2 separate regions of the Homo sapiens genome follow, and region 1 is linked to region 2. Evidence: promoter capture Hi-C in human tissues and cell types (Jung and others, 2019). All regions are on one chromosome and are shown on one strand. Each heading gives the region's core, a stretch centred on a gene start or on the middle of the fragment in contact. The rest is flanking DNA. Distances are from core to core; before and after follow the strand shown.

Evidence for each region. The method cuts DNA at HindIII sites, captures the fragments that hold promoters and counts their contacts. A contact is called where the count stands out against the background at its distance.
Region 1: a fragment that was not itself captured here is called in contact with the fragment with the promoter of ANKRD9 in region 2 in 1 of the 25 tissues and cell types used here (dorsolateral prefrontal cortex).

Annotation. Positions count from the first base shown.
Region 1 is chr14:103,628,820-103,635,753 of GRCh38, reverse strand. KLC1 (kinesin light chain 1) reads right to left here and starts at 6,543. Exons shown (of 17, transcript NM_001394837.1): 1 at 6,260-6,543. LOC105370688 (a long non-coding RNA gene) reads left to right here and starts at 6,611. Exons shown (of 3, transcript XR_944248.2): 1 at 6,611-6,722. RefSeq lists silencers at 5,796-5,975, 6,016-6,065, 6,156-6,275, 6,326-6,685, 6,776-6,934. The HindIII fragment of the contact is 5,866 bases long and covers 977-6,842 here.
Region 2 is chr14:102,505,323-102,512,165 of GRCh38, reverse strand. It overlaps ANKRD9 (ankyrin repeat domain 9), which reads left to right and starts at 2,390. Exons shown (of 4, transcript NM_152326.4): 1 at 2,390-2,637; 2 at 3,320-3,525; 3 at 3,617-3,691; 4 at 4,224-6,843. The coding sequence starts at 4,277. The coding sequence ends at 5,230. It overlaps LOC105370679 (a long non-coding RNA gene), which reads right to left and starts at 2,123. Exons shown (of 4, transcript XR_007064352.1): 1 at 615-2,123. RefSeq lists enhancers at 383-1,026, 1,027-1,672, 1,673-2,316 and silencers at 1,797-1,846, 2,007-2,446, 3,441-3,602. The HindIII fragment of the contact is 3,197 bases long and covers 403-3,599 here.

The DNA of each region.
Region 1 (6,934 bases), core at 2,660-5,159, 1.1 Mb before region 2:
GAGATGGGAGTCTCACTCTGTCGCCCAGGCTGGAGTGCCGTGGCTCGATCTGGCTCACTGCAACCTCCGCCTCCCGGGTTCAAGTGATTCTCCTACCTCAGCTTCCCAAATACCCGGGACTACAGAAGCATACTACCACACGCGGCTAATTTTATATTTTTAGTAGAGACAAGGTTTCACCCATGTTGGCCAGGCTGGTCTCAAACTCCTGACCTCAGGTGATCCGCCCTCCTCAGCCTCCCAAAGTGCTGGGATTACAGACATTAGCCACCAAGCACAGCCTTTTATTTTTTTAAGAAACAAGGTCTCACTATATTGCCCAAGCTAGTTTGAACTCCTGGGCTCAACTGATTCTCCCACCTCAGCCTTCGGAGTAACTGAAACTACAGACACATATGACATCCGCAGGGTTTACAGTACCTATTTTCTCTGGAACAGTGCAAACATCACTCTGATCAGTTTTAGTAGCAGCATAGTGAACTTCAGAGAAGCCTGAACATAAATTTATGTTATGCAACTGAAGTCAGGGAACAATCTATGGTTTAAATGAAGGTAACAGATATTTTAGAACCAAGGAAGTAACTCAGTTCACGTATGCACGTAACTCAGCTTAACATGTTTGCTCCATATCCGTTGCTTTAAGTTCAGATAGCACTTTTCAAATTCAAAAAGCATATATGCAAACTGCTTTCATCTGCCTCCAAAAATTAGTTAAAACTAAAAAAAAATCATAATTCATTTCTGATCCATGAGTATACTAACTAGGAGGCTACAGAGTACAACGCCACAAAGGATGCCTTGGGAGAACGAATGAAGATCATCTCGAAATAGCCTCCATCCTTAAGAGGTAATATTCTCAGGAAACAGGCAACAGGCCGGGTGCAGTGGCTCAAACCTGTAATCCCGACACTTTGGGAGGCCACGGCAGGCAGATGGCTTGAGCCCAGGAATTCGAGACCAGCCTGGGAAACACAGTGAGACCCCCGTCTCTACATAAACTATATTTAAAAAAAAAAAAGTTAAAGGTCATTAGTAACCTCCTAGAAGCAAAATCCATAGAGACTTCTCAGTCCAACCCATCACTGACTTCTTAGCCAATTTGCTACTGATCTCCTCCCTCCTCTTCTCTTGGTTTCCCAGGACCCTCTCCTCTTAGACCCACTCCCCATCTCTACCAGATGGACATCACACCCGACTGGCTCAACGATATGATGCAGTCTCTGGAATCTTTACCTCCAGCCTCAGCCTCTGTCTTGAGCTCCAAAGATGTATCTCTAACTGCCCACTAGTCCACTTGGCTGCCCCACAAGCACTTCAGATTTAACATGTCCAAAAACAAACTCATAATCTCATCCTTCTCCCATTTTCCCTCCTTGGATGAGTGTCACCAGCCAGTGAATCACCCAAATTAGAGATGAGGATCATTCTAGATGCATTCCTTCAACAAACATTTACTAAGTTCCTATTACACGCCAAGCACCGACACTGAATACAAGAGACAAAACTCCCCATCCTTGTGGAGGTTATGAATGTTAAGTGGAGACAAACAATAAAAATTTTAAAATGATTAAAATAATACAGTATTGGCCAGGCACGGTGGCTCAGGCCTGTAATCCCAGCACTTTGGGAGGCTGAGGCAGGTGGATCACTTAAGGTCAAGAGTTCGAGACCAGCCTGGCCAACATGGTGAAATCCTGTCTCTACTAAAAATACAAAAATTAGCTAGGTGTGGTGGCACATGCCTGTAGTCCCAACTACTTGGGAGGCTGAGGCAGGAGAATGGCTTGAACCCGGGAGGCAGAGGATGCAGTGAGCTGAGATCATGCCACTGCACTCCATCCTGGGTGACAGAGCGAGACTCCGTCTCAAAAAGTAATAATAAAAAAAAAATAATAATAATACAGCATTTAAGATAGTGAGGTGTGCTAAGGAGAAAAATCAGGGCAGAGGCTAAGGAGTATGTGGGGAAGTGAAGAAATGCTAATCACTACAAGAATGGGTTTGGTTCAGAACTCCAGATGCACCTGGAAGTGCTTGAGTAGGGCCAGAGCAGGAAGATGAAAAGAGACAGGGTGGGGTGCTCAGAGGACACTGACAAAAGCTTTAACAGAGGAGTGACTCAGGTTTTCACAGGATCATTCTGGGGAGTCCTCCCTGCAGCTCCTCATTTACCCCAATCCAGTCAGCCCCAAATCAGCTCCACTATAACCCTTACAGCCCAGCCCCTGCCCCCACCTAGCTTCTCTGTTCCTTCTGTCACTGCCCTAATCCTGAGGCTTGCCGAGTTGGGGTTAATGGCTTCCTAATTAACCTCATCCCAGTTCACAGCACCTGCCCCACCACTGCCTATGCTCTTTCTAAAGTGGCAACTGGCTCCTCAGAATCTTCCAACCCTCCGGCCAGGCGCGGTGGCTCACGCCTGTAATCCCAGCACTTTGAGAGGCCAAGGCGGGCGGATCACGAGGTCAGGAGATGGAGACCATCCTGGCTAACGTGGTGAAACCCCGACTCTACTAAAAATACAAAAAATTAGCCGGATGTGGTGGCACGCACCTGTAGTCCCAGCTACTCGGGAGGCTGAGGCAGGAGAATCACTTGAACCTGGGAGGTAGAGGCTGCAGTGAGCAGAGGTCGTGCCACTGCGTTCCAGCCTGGGTGACAGAGCAAGACTCCATCTCAAAAAAAAAAAAAATCTTCCAACCCTCCTTTGTAAACCTCAGAATGAAAGCAGACTTCTAAGAAGTCATTCAAGGCCTTTCCTAACCTCGTCTTTCCACACTCACTCCCATGTCCCCTTCCCAACATGCCCCTTTACAGCAGCACAACCTCAGGATTTATTTCCTCCAAGCAGGAACCCCAATCCCAATCCCACCCCTGACCCCCTGACACTGGCTGATTGGTACTTTTCTTTTGTGAAGAATCGCCTCCTCAGTGCACTCCACAGCCTTTAACCTGGTCTGTGGTACCTGCCCATGCCAGCCTGTGAGCTCCTAGAGGACAGAGTTTTTTTGTTTTTTGGTTTTATTTTTTTTGAGGCAGAGTTTTGCTCTTGTTGCCCAGGCTGGAGTGCAATGGCGTGATCTCGGCTCACTGCAACCTCTGCCTCCCCAGTTCAAGCGATTCTCCAGCCTCAGCCTTCTGAGTAGCTGCGATTAGAGGCACCCGCCACCACACCCGGTTTTGGTTTTTTTTGTATTTTTAGTAGAGACAGGGTTTCACCATGTTGTCCAGGCGGGTCTCAAACTCCTGACCTCAGGTGATCGGTCCATCTTGGCCTCCCAAAGTGCTGGGATTACAGGAGTGAGCCACTGCACGGCTGACAGCGGCTCTTTTTGTTTGTTTTGAGACGGAGTCTGGCTGGACTGCAGTGACGTGATCTCGGCTCACTACAACCTCCACTTCCCGGTTCAAGCGATTCTCCTTCCTCAGCCTCATGAGTAGCTGGAATTACAGGTGTGCACCACCACACCTGGCTAATTTTTGTATTTTTGGTAGGGACGGGGTTTCACCATGTTGGCCAGGCTGGTCTTAAACTCCTGACCTCAGGTGATCCACCTGCCTCGGCCTCCCAAAGAGCTAGGGGCGATCTGCAGCCTCAGCCTCCCAAAGAGTTAAGATTACAGGCATGACCACGCCCGGCCAACAGTGGCTCTTTTATCAAGGTATCGCTGACTACTCAGCACAGTACCTGCCATTCAGTTGGTTCCCAACAGACATTTAAGACCAGTATTTGCAATCTTAATGTGCTTGTCACTTTTATTCTATGCCCTGAAATTTGACACTTAAATCTTCCCAAATACTCTCGTCTTGAGTATATTACTGATCATTTCTTTGCTACATAAAATACTGGTTTCAGCCCAGGTGCAATGGCTCACACCTGTAACCCTAGCACTTTGGGAGGCTGAGGCGGGTGGATCGCCTGAGGTCAGCAGTTTGAGACCAGCCTGGCCAACATGGTGAAGCCCCGTCTCTACTAAAAATACAAAAAATCAGCCTGGTGTGGTAGTGGGCACCTGTAATCCCAGCTACTAGGGAGGCTGAGGCAGGAGAATCACTGGAACCTGGGAGGCGGAGGTTGCAGTGAGCGGGGATCACACCACTGCACTCTAGCCTGAGCCACACAGTGAGACTCATCTCTAAATAAATAAAAATAAAATACTGGTTTCTAACATTCCACTTATCTACAAAGAATGTTTTCAGGTGATACTAATCATACATTTCACTCAACTTTTGATTTTTCTATCCTAGGTTTCTTTTTATACAAGTATGTTTTAAGATAATTTATGGCCCTATACAGAAAGTTACACATTGACTTTTTTCCAACATTGAGAAACATGCCTAAGAATGTATAAATTTTAAAAATGTATAAATTTGGGCCAGGTGCGGTGGCTCACGCCTGTAATCCCAGCACTTTGGGAGGCCGAGGTGGGCGGATCACGAGGTCAGGAGATCAAGACCAACCTGGCTAACATGTTGAAACCCCATCTCTACTAAAAATACAAAAAATTAACCGGGCGTGGTGGCGGGCGCCTGTGGTCCCAGCTACTCAGTAGGTTGAGGCAGGAGAATGGCGTGAACCCGGGAGGCGGAGCTTGCAGTGAGCCGAGATCGCGCCACTACACTCCAGCCCGGGCGACAGAGCGAGACTCCATCTCAAAAAAAAAAAAAATGTGTAAGTTTAAACGACTGCAGTTATTTGCTATGAAATACTGAAGATACTGTGTGCCTCTCCCCAGTGTCATTCCCTCCCCCCTTGCTGGAGATAAACGCTGTCCAGAGTCCTGTGCATGTCTGGATGCTTTTCTCTAAGACAATGCCAAGGCTGCAGTAGGGTTAGAGGTTACCACCTGGGTCCTCCACAGCACTCAGTGCCAGACAGGGCTGCCAGGCTCAACTGCAACATGATGCTGCATTCTTTGATGACTTGGAGAGACACTGGCTCTTTAGAGTGCCTACCCTCCCACACAGAATTCCATACAAGTTGAAATATACTTCATACTTAGTATCATTGTATTCCTACAAATATTTAGGAAACAGAGCAATAGGTCAAATTTCTCACCATAACAGGCTTGCTGACAATCCCTGAAAGAAGCAAGGCCATGTCTGTAATATAACTTCAGGAGGTTCTTCCAGTTTTCTAAAGTGTCTTTCACTAAACTAGTGCAATGTATTCCGAGCTGATTCTGATCAATGGCTTAGTCATGCCGTACCAAAAAAAAAGGCCTTGGGATTTAACTAATGCAAAGAATCAAAGCTCTAACTGCCCTTTTACAGAACACCTGAAATAGTATATCTCAAATTTTTTGTTCTCACATTTTTAAAAAACATCATTTTTGTAAGTATTCCTTTTCAAACGCTTAATATGTAAATTCTTAATTCATTTAAATAATAAAACAGTAACAGGCAGCAACAATTCTAATACAAATATACCTAGAAATGACCTACAAATGTTAAGTTATAAAACCATCCACTCCATCACGCATTAATTTCACTACTTTTACGCTTTATTTTAATTTTCTTAAGGAAAAGGGTACACCCAATTTTACATGGAAAAAGCATTCCAGGACGGAGGCTGCTTCAAGTTTAGTTGGAGCAACGCCAGCCTAGGTGAACAGGGTCGCCTGAAACGTTTCGCATCTGGTTACTGAAAATAAGGGGTCGCCAAGGAGGCAAAGCGGAGCCAGCTCTCGGGAGGGACCCGGCCCCCCGCCGCCCGCGAGAATGACAGGCGCGTCCGCTCAGGGCGGTGCCGGGAGAGGCGGGGGTGGAAGGAAGAGGAGGAATCGGACAAAGCCAGCCCCGCCGGGCCTCCGGCCTCCCCGCCCGCCGCGATCCCGGGGTCAGCCACCTCCCCTGTCGCGGGTTCCCGGGGTCCACAGCTGTCCCCGGGAACGGCCGCCGCCGCCCGCAGCAGGGCCAAGCCGGGGATGCGGGGCCAGGGCGGGGCCCTGGGCAGGGCCGGGGACCGGAACCTGCAGTGGGACGCGGATGGGGAGGACGCGCGGCGCCGGGAGCCGGGGCTGGCAAAAGGGCCGGGGACAAGAACCCGACCTGAACCTGGAAGGGGTCGCGGACCGGCCGGGGCGGTGAACTGGGGCGGGTACCGGGGTGGGAACGGAGAGGGGCCGGGACCCAAACCGGGAAGGAGGCCTGGATGGGGACAGAGTTACGGCCGGGGCGGGTCCGAAGAGGAGCGGGACAGGGACGGGGCGGAGGATGAGGAGGGGGCCGCGGTCCGGGGCGCACGCCGGGGACTCACCGCCTTGCTCCTGAGGGCCGCGCTCTCTCGCGCTGTCAGCACCTGGAGCGCCGCCGGGCGCGCGCGCGGAGCAGCGACTGTGCGCCGAGCCCGCCTCGGCTGTGTGAGGCACGGCGCAGCAGTCACCAGCTAGGGGCGCCGGAGCTACCGCCCCGCAGCATCCTCGGCCACCCACGCGCTGTCCCCTTGGCCGCCGAGCACAGCCCCGCGGCTCCTCGCACCAGCAGCCCAGCCGACCCAGCCAGTCCCGCTCGGCCGCCTGCGCCGCTCCCGCCGCCGAAAATGGCGTCTCAGTGTTGCTCCCCCCGGCGCCCCGCCTCGCCCCGCCCCACAATGCCGCGCGCCGGCATGACGTCATCGCCCCTCGCCCCGCCCGGGGCTGGGGAAACTGAGGCTGGGTGGCTCCCCGCAAGCGCTCGGCGAGCTGGGGACTGGAGGGGCGAGAAAGTTGTTTGGGTATCAGGTGGGCGGTCACAGGGAGGAGGGTGACGGTGCAGGACCCAGCGGGCCTCCCGGTTGTAACGCGGACGGGGGTGGGGCGCTCGGGGCAGGGCGCGGCTCGCGGGGTGGGCGGCCAGGCCCTGGCCTCTCCGACTCCGCAGCCGCGATGACCGAGCGCTTCGGCAGCTTCCCTTCCAGCCGGACTGTGGGCCCTACCAGAATGCGGCCGGGGAC
Region 2 (6,843 bases), core at 1,141-3,640:
ATGTCCACAGGAAGCTTCTAGGCAGCAGAGAAACAGGGTCAGACTTGGCTTTTAGAAAAAGGTCTCTGGGGCAGGCAGATCACTTGAGGCCAAGAGTTCGAGACCAGCCTGGCCAACATGGCAAAACCCCGTCTCTACTAAAAATACAAAAACTAGCTGTGAGTGCTGGTGCATGCCTGTAATTGCAGCTACTTGGGAGGCTGCAGCATGACAATTGCTTGAACCTGGGAAGTGGAGGTTGCAGGGAGCTGAGATTGCACCACTGCACTCCAGTCTGGGTGACAGAATGAGACTTTGTCTTGGGAAAAAAAAAAACCCTCTGGGATCCCCAGTGAGGAGGGCAGGTCAGGGCACGGGGGCAGGGAAGACATCAAGGGGTGGAGAGAGACCCGCCCTGAGGCCCAGTGCACAGCCTGGCATCCACTGGTGCCCTTTCACCCTCATTCCACCAGTAGCCATGGAGACGGCTGTATCTCAACTCCAGCCTTCGAAGAGGGCAAGAGAGCAGGGGAGCCTTGAGCCACAGACAGCCCACATGGGCACCATCTCCCCAAGATGTCCCCCAGGGTTTGGGCTCCCAAAGGCCGATTGTTGACTCCAGGACCTTCACTCACTTTGCTCTCCCCACCATCGTACTCAGAGGCATCCAGAACCGGCAGATGGGAGAAGCCCTAGGGAGATAGGCCTAGATACAGGAGGAGACATGTGGAGCTGAGGCAAAGGCGGGTGCGGATGCCAGGCCCAGTGCCCTCTATACCCCTACTCCTGCTGACAACCTGGCTGCTGTAAGCTTGGCAGTTGCCATGGACTCCCTGGGAGAGATGGCGTGGCCTGGAACGTCCCCCGCCCTGAGGTGGGGCAGGGCTGGTGGGGTCTGGTCATCCCCCTGGTGGGTCCATGCATGGCAGCCTGGGCAGGATACATGTGAGTGCCTACCTGGGCTGGGGTGGCCTGACCCTCTCTGGGCCTCACAGCTTTGTCTGCCTCATGGTACTGTCCACCTGGCCTCTCAGGACTGCTCTGTGGCGTGTGTGCTTAAGGGATTGAGCTCGTTGGGCTGGGGACAGAGGCCTGCCTAGGTCTGTTGAGAGGGCCCAGGTAAGACTTCCACCCAGACTGACTGGCTGGGGCACACAGAGAAGCCAGGACAGGGCTGATTGTGTGTGCAGGGGCGTGCCCTCTGGACGAGGCCCCTCCCACCGGGGCGAGGCAGAGGCCTTGCTTGGTTGGAGCGGAGTGGGGGAGTGGGAGGGTCTCCCTGGTGAGATAGTACTGGAAGGGCAGGGACAGCATTCTAGGGAAGGAACCAGAAAGAGCCCCTGCATGGAATGTGGGGATTTCACCATGAGACCCCGGCTGCCTGGCCTCTGAGAACGTGTGTGGGGGGATTCCAGGTGGAAGGTCGTGTCTGGGAGGATGGGTGGGGGGTTGAGCAGTCATTGCCCCTCTCCAGATCTGCGTCCACATCTGTAAAATGGGCCTAGAATTCCCAGCCGCTGGGGGCGAGTGAGGCCATAAATTAGTTGAGATGGACCCAGGCTCCTAAGCCCCCTAGGTCATGACCCCAAACCTTGGAACCCCCGACGGAGACGGTGGGGGTGGCCGAGGCCCAATCGAATCTATCCCGCCCAGATGTGGGAAGAACCGCAGGGCAAACCCCCGGCTTCCCTCCTGGCCGCTCCTCTCTTTGAGGCCACCTCTCTGAGCCCTGATTTGCTGGCGGGTGAACTGGGGATCATCGTGTCCACTGTGGCTGGTGGTCGTGAAACGAAGTGGAAACATGAGTGTTGAGGCCGAGATGGGCGCAGTGCGCGCTCCTAAACAGCTGTCCCCATCCGTCCGCCCCTCCCTCCCTTGCGCGGGTCAGCTGGAGCGGGGGCGCGCCAGGCACGACCCTGGCCGGGCAGAAGGCGGTGGAGCCCTTAGGGGTCGCGGCTCCTACCCCCGGCCCTCCCATGTGCAGATGGGGTAGCAGCCTGGAGGTTTTTCCCAAGGTCACGTAAGGTCAAAGAAAAGGGGAGCTGGACGCGACGAGGAAAGTCACGCACGGCGGAGGGCGGGCCACCTACGCGCGCGCCCGAGTTCGCAGAGCAGCGGCGCCCTCCCGGGCTAGGGCAGCTCGGAGCTCGGAGCCTTTCTTCGCCCGCAGCTCGGGTTCCGGGAGCCCCGCCCCCGCCCATCAACGCCCCGCCCCTTTCGCCACGGCCCCGCCCCTCCTCTCCGTTCTCCCCGCCGGCGCTCCCTCAAGTTTCTCCGAAGTTTTCCGCGGGTCCAGCGGTGCGCCCCGCCCGCCGGCCAGTGACGTAACAATGGTGCAGCGCGGCGGCCAATGGGTGGTGGCGGGGGCCGGCGGCGCGGGCCAATGGCGGCGGCGGACGGTCCCGCTGTCCTGCCTGGCCGGGGCCGCACTGCGCCGCCCGCCGCCCGCCGCCCGCCGCCCGCCGCCGGCGACGGCACCGCCGCCCTGCGATCCGGCCGCGGCGGCTCAGAGCGCGGCTGCGGCGGGCGCGGGCGGCGGTGGCTCCCTCCCGTGCGTCCGTCGTGGGACCTTTGCCCGCTCGCCCGCGGGGGACAGCGCGCGCTCCGGTCCGCGGCAGGGGCGGGGACGCCCGGCCTGTGGCCCCCGCGCCCCCCATGGTGAGTCCCCGTCCCCCGCGCCGCGCCCGCGGCCGCCGCCCCCTCCTCCTCCGGCACACGCGCACGCAGGTGCAGCCCTCGCTGCGCCGGCCACCTGCGCGCGGACGCCCCGCTCGGCCCCGCGACCCTCCGCCGCCCGACGTCTGGCCGTGCAGGCCGGGAGGGGACGGGTAGGAGGTGGCGGGTGGCCCCGGGCGCGGCGCTGCCTTCGATGGCCCAACCCCCTTATTCACGAGCCGCGGCCGTGACTCTGCCCGGTGACGTGGGGAGGCCGAACTTTACGTAACCCGCCCGGCGCCCCACGCGTGCCGGCACAGGGCATATCTGGGGCCCGGAGGCCCAGGCTTGGGGAAGGGGCTCCAGTCACGGTGTTGCCCACGGGCCACAGCCTACCCGCACCGCGCCGCTCTCTTTAACTCAGTTACTGCCAGTGATAGTGACCCAGTCAGTGTGTGTGGACGCGGCCTGCCTTCTGTCCCAGGCCCCTTGTGACCAAGGGCTTACCCTTGAAAGAAGGCAGTAGGGAGGTTGGGACGGAGCCAGAGGTCAGACGCCTAGGCTCAGGTCGGGGCTGGGGACTCAGAGGGCAGGGTCAGGGCCTAAGCTCGATTGCCTGTGGGTTGGGGGTCCCCACCAATTCTGGAATGAGCCCAAACTGAGACGCAGGGGACCTGAGTTCTAGGCCTGGCTCTGCCGTGGCTTGCTGACCTTGGAGAATTGGAGAAGCTTGTGCCCTGCTGGAAAGTGGGATGGCAGTACCCGCTTCATCTAGTAGTCGGGGAGATCAAGAGAGGTATGGGACCTGAAGAGGATGGCAGACTGTGCAGTGCGGTGCACACCGGTCTCCAGGTTGTTTTCACCCTCCTATCTCCTCCCAGGAGCTAACGTGTAAGCAAACATGTTTGGATAGAGGGCTGGTGCCACGCCCCAGGCTCACCCCGCCCGCACAGCCGTCGTCCACCCCTCCCCTTTCTTACAGATAAAGCTGAGGCTCGGCCAGGGACTGTGATATACCCACATCCCCGGAACTAGGTGATCGCGGTGCAGGAACCAGGTAGGTCTGAGTCTGGATCATGCCTCTGAACAGCCCAGGAAGAGGCTCCAGGGGCCTCCAAGTGGTCTGGGGTCGGAGATCAGGGTCAGGGTTGCGCTTGGGCTGGAGAGTGGATTTGCCTCAGCTTGAGATGTGGGCCCAAGCTTTCTCATCCCCTCCCTGGCCTTTTCTTTATTTGGGGTCGTATGAACCTGGCTTAGGTGGGAACAGAAGCTCTTCCAGTGGGTCCCTGGGTTGGAGAGGGGAGGGGAGATTTGAGGGCATGGGCAGCAAGGGCATTTCCAGCAGAGGTGCCAGAGAGCAAGTCAGTTTCAAGGAGGGAGAACAGGTACAGCTAGATCAAGGATGGAGGCGGTGGTTCTGGGCGTCGGAGAGATGGAGCTGTAGGGTGACTGGAAGGGCCTGGCCGAGGCTGGAGGTAGGTACAGGCCTGGTGGGCCAGGACCGGAGGGGCTGTGTGAGGGGCAGAGGGGAGTCCCCGGGCCTCCCCAGTTTCCCCGCGCCTCACCGTGGCCTCTTCCTTTCCCCGCAGGTGTGCCTTCGCGGGATCCATGCCTTGAGGCCCAGGAACGCCCCGCCGCCAGCATGCCGTGGGACGCGCGGCGGCCTGGGGGTGGCGCGGACGGCGGGCCCGAGGCCTCGGGCGCGGCGCGCTCGCGAGCGCAGAAGCAGTGCCGCAAGTCGTCGTTCGCCTTCTACCAGGCGGTGCGCGACCTGCTACCCGTGTGGCTGCTGGAGGATATGCGCGCCAGCGAGGCCTTCCACTGGGACGAGCGCGGGCGCGCCGCCGCCTACTCGCCCTCTGAGGCGCTGCTCTACGCGCTCGTGCACGACCACCAAGCGTACGCGCATTACCTGCTGGCCACGTTCCCGCGGCGCGCGCTCGCACCGCCCAGTGCCGGCTTCCGCTGCTGCGCGGCTCCCGGGCCGCACGTGGCGCTGGCAGTGCGCTACAACCGCGTGGGCATTCTGCGCCGCATCCTGCGCACCTTGCGCGACTTCCCGGCCGAGGAGCGGGCGCGCGTGCTGGACCGGCGTGGCTGCAGCCGCGTGGAGGGCGGTGGCACGTCGCTGCACGTGGCCTGTGAGCTGGCGCGCCCCGAGTGCCTCTTCCTGCTGCTGGGCCACGGCGCCTCGCCCGGTCTGCGGGACGGCGGCGGCCTCACGCCTCTCGAGCTGCTGCTGCGCCAGCTGGGCCGCGACGCCGGGGCCACTCCCTCCGCCGCCGGAGCCCCCGCCTCAGCTCCCGGGGAGCCGCGCCAGCGCCGCCTGCTGCTGCTGGACCTCCTGGCGCTGTACACCCCCGTGGGTGCCGCCGGCTCGGCCCGCCAGGAGCTGCTGGGCGACCGGCCGCGCTGGCAGCGGCTGCTGGGTGAGGACAAGTTCCAGTGGCTGGCGGGCCTGGCGCCGCCCTCGCTCTTCGCGCGCGCCATGCAGGTGCTGGTCACCGCCATCTCTCCAGGCCGCTTCCCCGAGGCCCTGGACGAGCTGCCGCTGCCCCCATTCCTGCAGCCGTTGGACCTCACTGGCAAAGGCTAGGCCCGGAGCACCCTAGGCGCTGGATTTTGGGACAAAACTATTTTTCAGAGCGTTGTACCGGCACTTTATATATATTGATCTCTGTACGGCACAATCTCTGCCTCATCTGTCGCATGCACTGGGGGCTGGGCTTGGATGGTCAGGTGAGTTCCAAGTGGCAGGTTTTCTGGGTGCAGCTGGGCTCGGGCCTTCAGCTCGCTGTCCAGCCCCTGAAGGGAGTGAGGACTAACCTCCCACCTTGATCTAGAGCCTCGGACAGGTGTGCGTCCCAGATGGGTGACAGCTGAGTGCCGCAGGAGCTCGGTAGGTGCAGGGGTGGGGACTGGCATGTCCAAGCAGCAGGACAGCGTATAAAAAGGCCTGGAAGCCAAGAGAACGAGCTCTGCAGCGTAGGGTTCTCACGGGAGGTCCTGTGCGGTCAGCCTTTTGCACCCTGTGGACTCCGGGCCAGGGAGGGCACACAGGGCTGGCAGGCCCGCGGTGGCTGGTGTTGAGGCATGAACAAATTGTACCGGGTATCCCCCACCCCACTCTGACCACCAGTTCCTCCTTGGATATCACTCCCCCTGACAGGCAGCCCACCCAGGCCTGGATTTGTCCCTGTCTCCCCCTTTTGCTTTTCCCCCATGACTAATGGGCACCAGGTCTTGCTGCTCCTGCTTCTCACCTCTGCAGTGGCAGCAGGCCCCTGGCCCCAGGTGCATGCCGGTCAGTGGGGTTGGATGTGCCTTCCTCCAGGCCTGCCCTCTGTCCAAGCCCGGAGTGGGCTTGGTGGGCTCCCTGGTGGCCCCCAGTGGGTGCCAGGTGGTGCCCGGGGTTATTGAGGGGTGGTTGTATCACTGTAGGGACAGGCTTCTTGCCCCAGCCTGGAGAGCTGTTTTCTTCAGGAAGGTTCTGGAGATGGAGACTTGTTTGCGAATTCACCACAACTCCAGGCTGGGAGGCTGGGTCTCCGCTCTCAGAGCCGAGACACCAGGGAGGATAGCCAGGCTGCCCTGCCTGGGAATTCTGCTGGGCCGTCAAATTCAACCCGCACCAACGTGGGCAGGAGGGCCACAGTGTCCTGCCAGGAGCAGAGGGCTGAAGGTCTGCAGGAGGAAGAACCACTATCCTGGTGGGGGGCACCTGCTGCCCACCCTGCCCCCAGCGTGCCTGGGGGGAGCACACCTGGGCATGGAGGAGTCCAGGGTGCTGGGCCACACAAGAGAGGTGGGGGAGAGGCCTGGACAGTAGGAAGATCTTGCCCAGGGTCCTGGATCCGCCACTCTGGGGGTGACCTTGGACAAACCTCTGCCTTGGCCCTCAGTCTCCCCATCAAGGTTTTTCCATTCAGGAGGTTTTGGGCCATCTTCAGCCACCCTACCAGCCCTGAAAAGGATGTGACTCCTGTTTCTGGGAAGTGTGTGGTGTGTTAGGTGGGCCTACAGCCCTGGTTGTGGGGAGGGAAGGATGGAGAGACAGCACAGTGACAGAGCCCAGACTGCAGGCTGGAGTGAGGGTTCCACTTCCCCGCTGCTGTGTGTCCTGGACCAGTGCCTCTGAACCTTGGCACTTGGGGCAGTGGATATTAACATCTTTCCAAGCCCAATTCTTGGGGCATCAGGGCCTCCGGT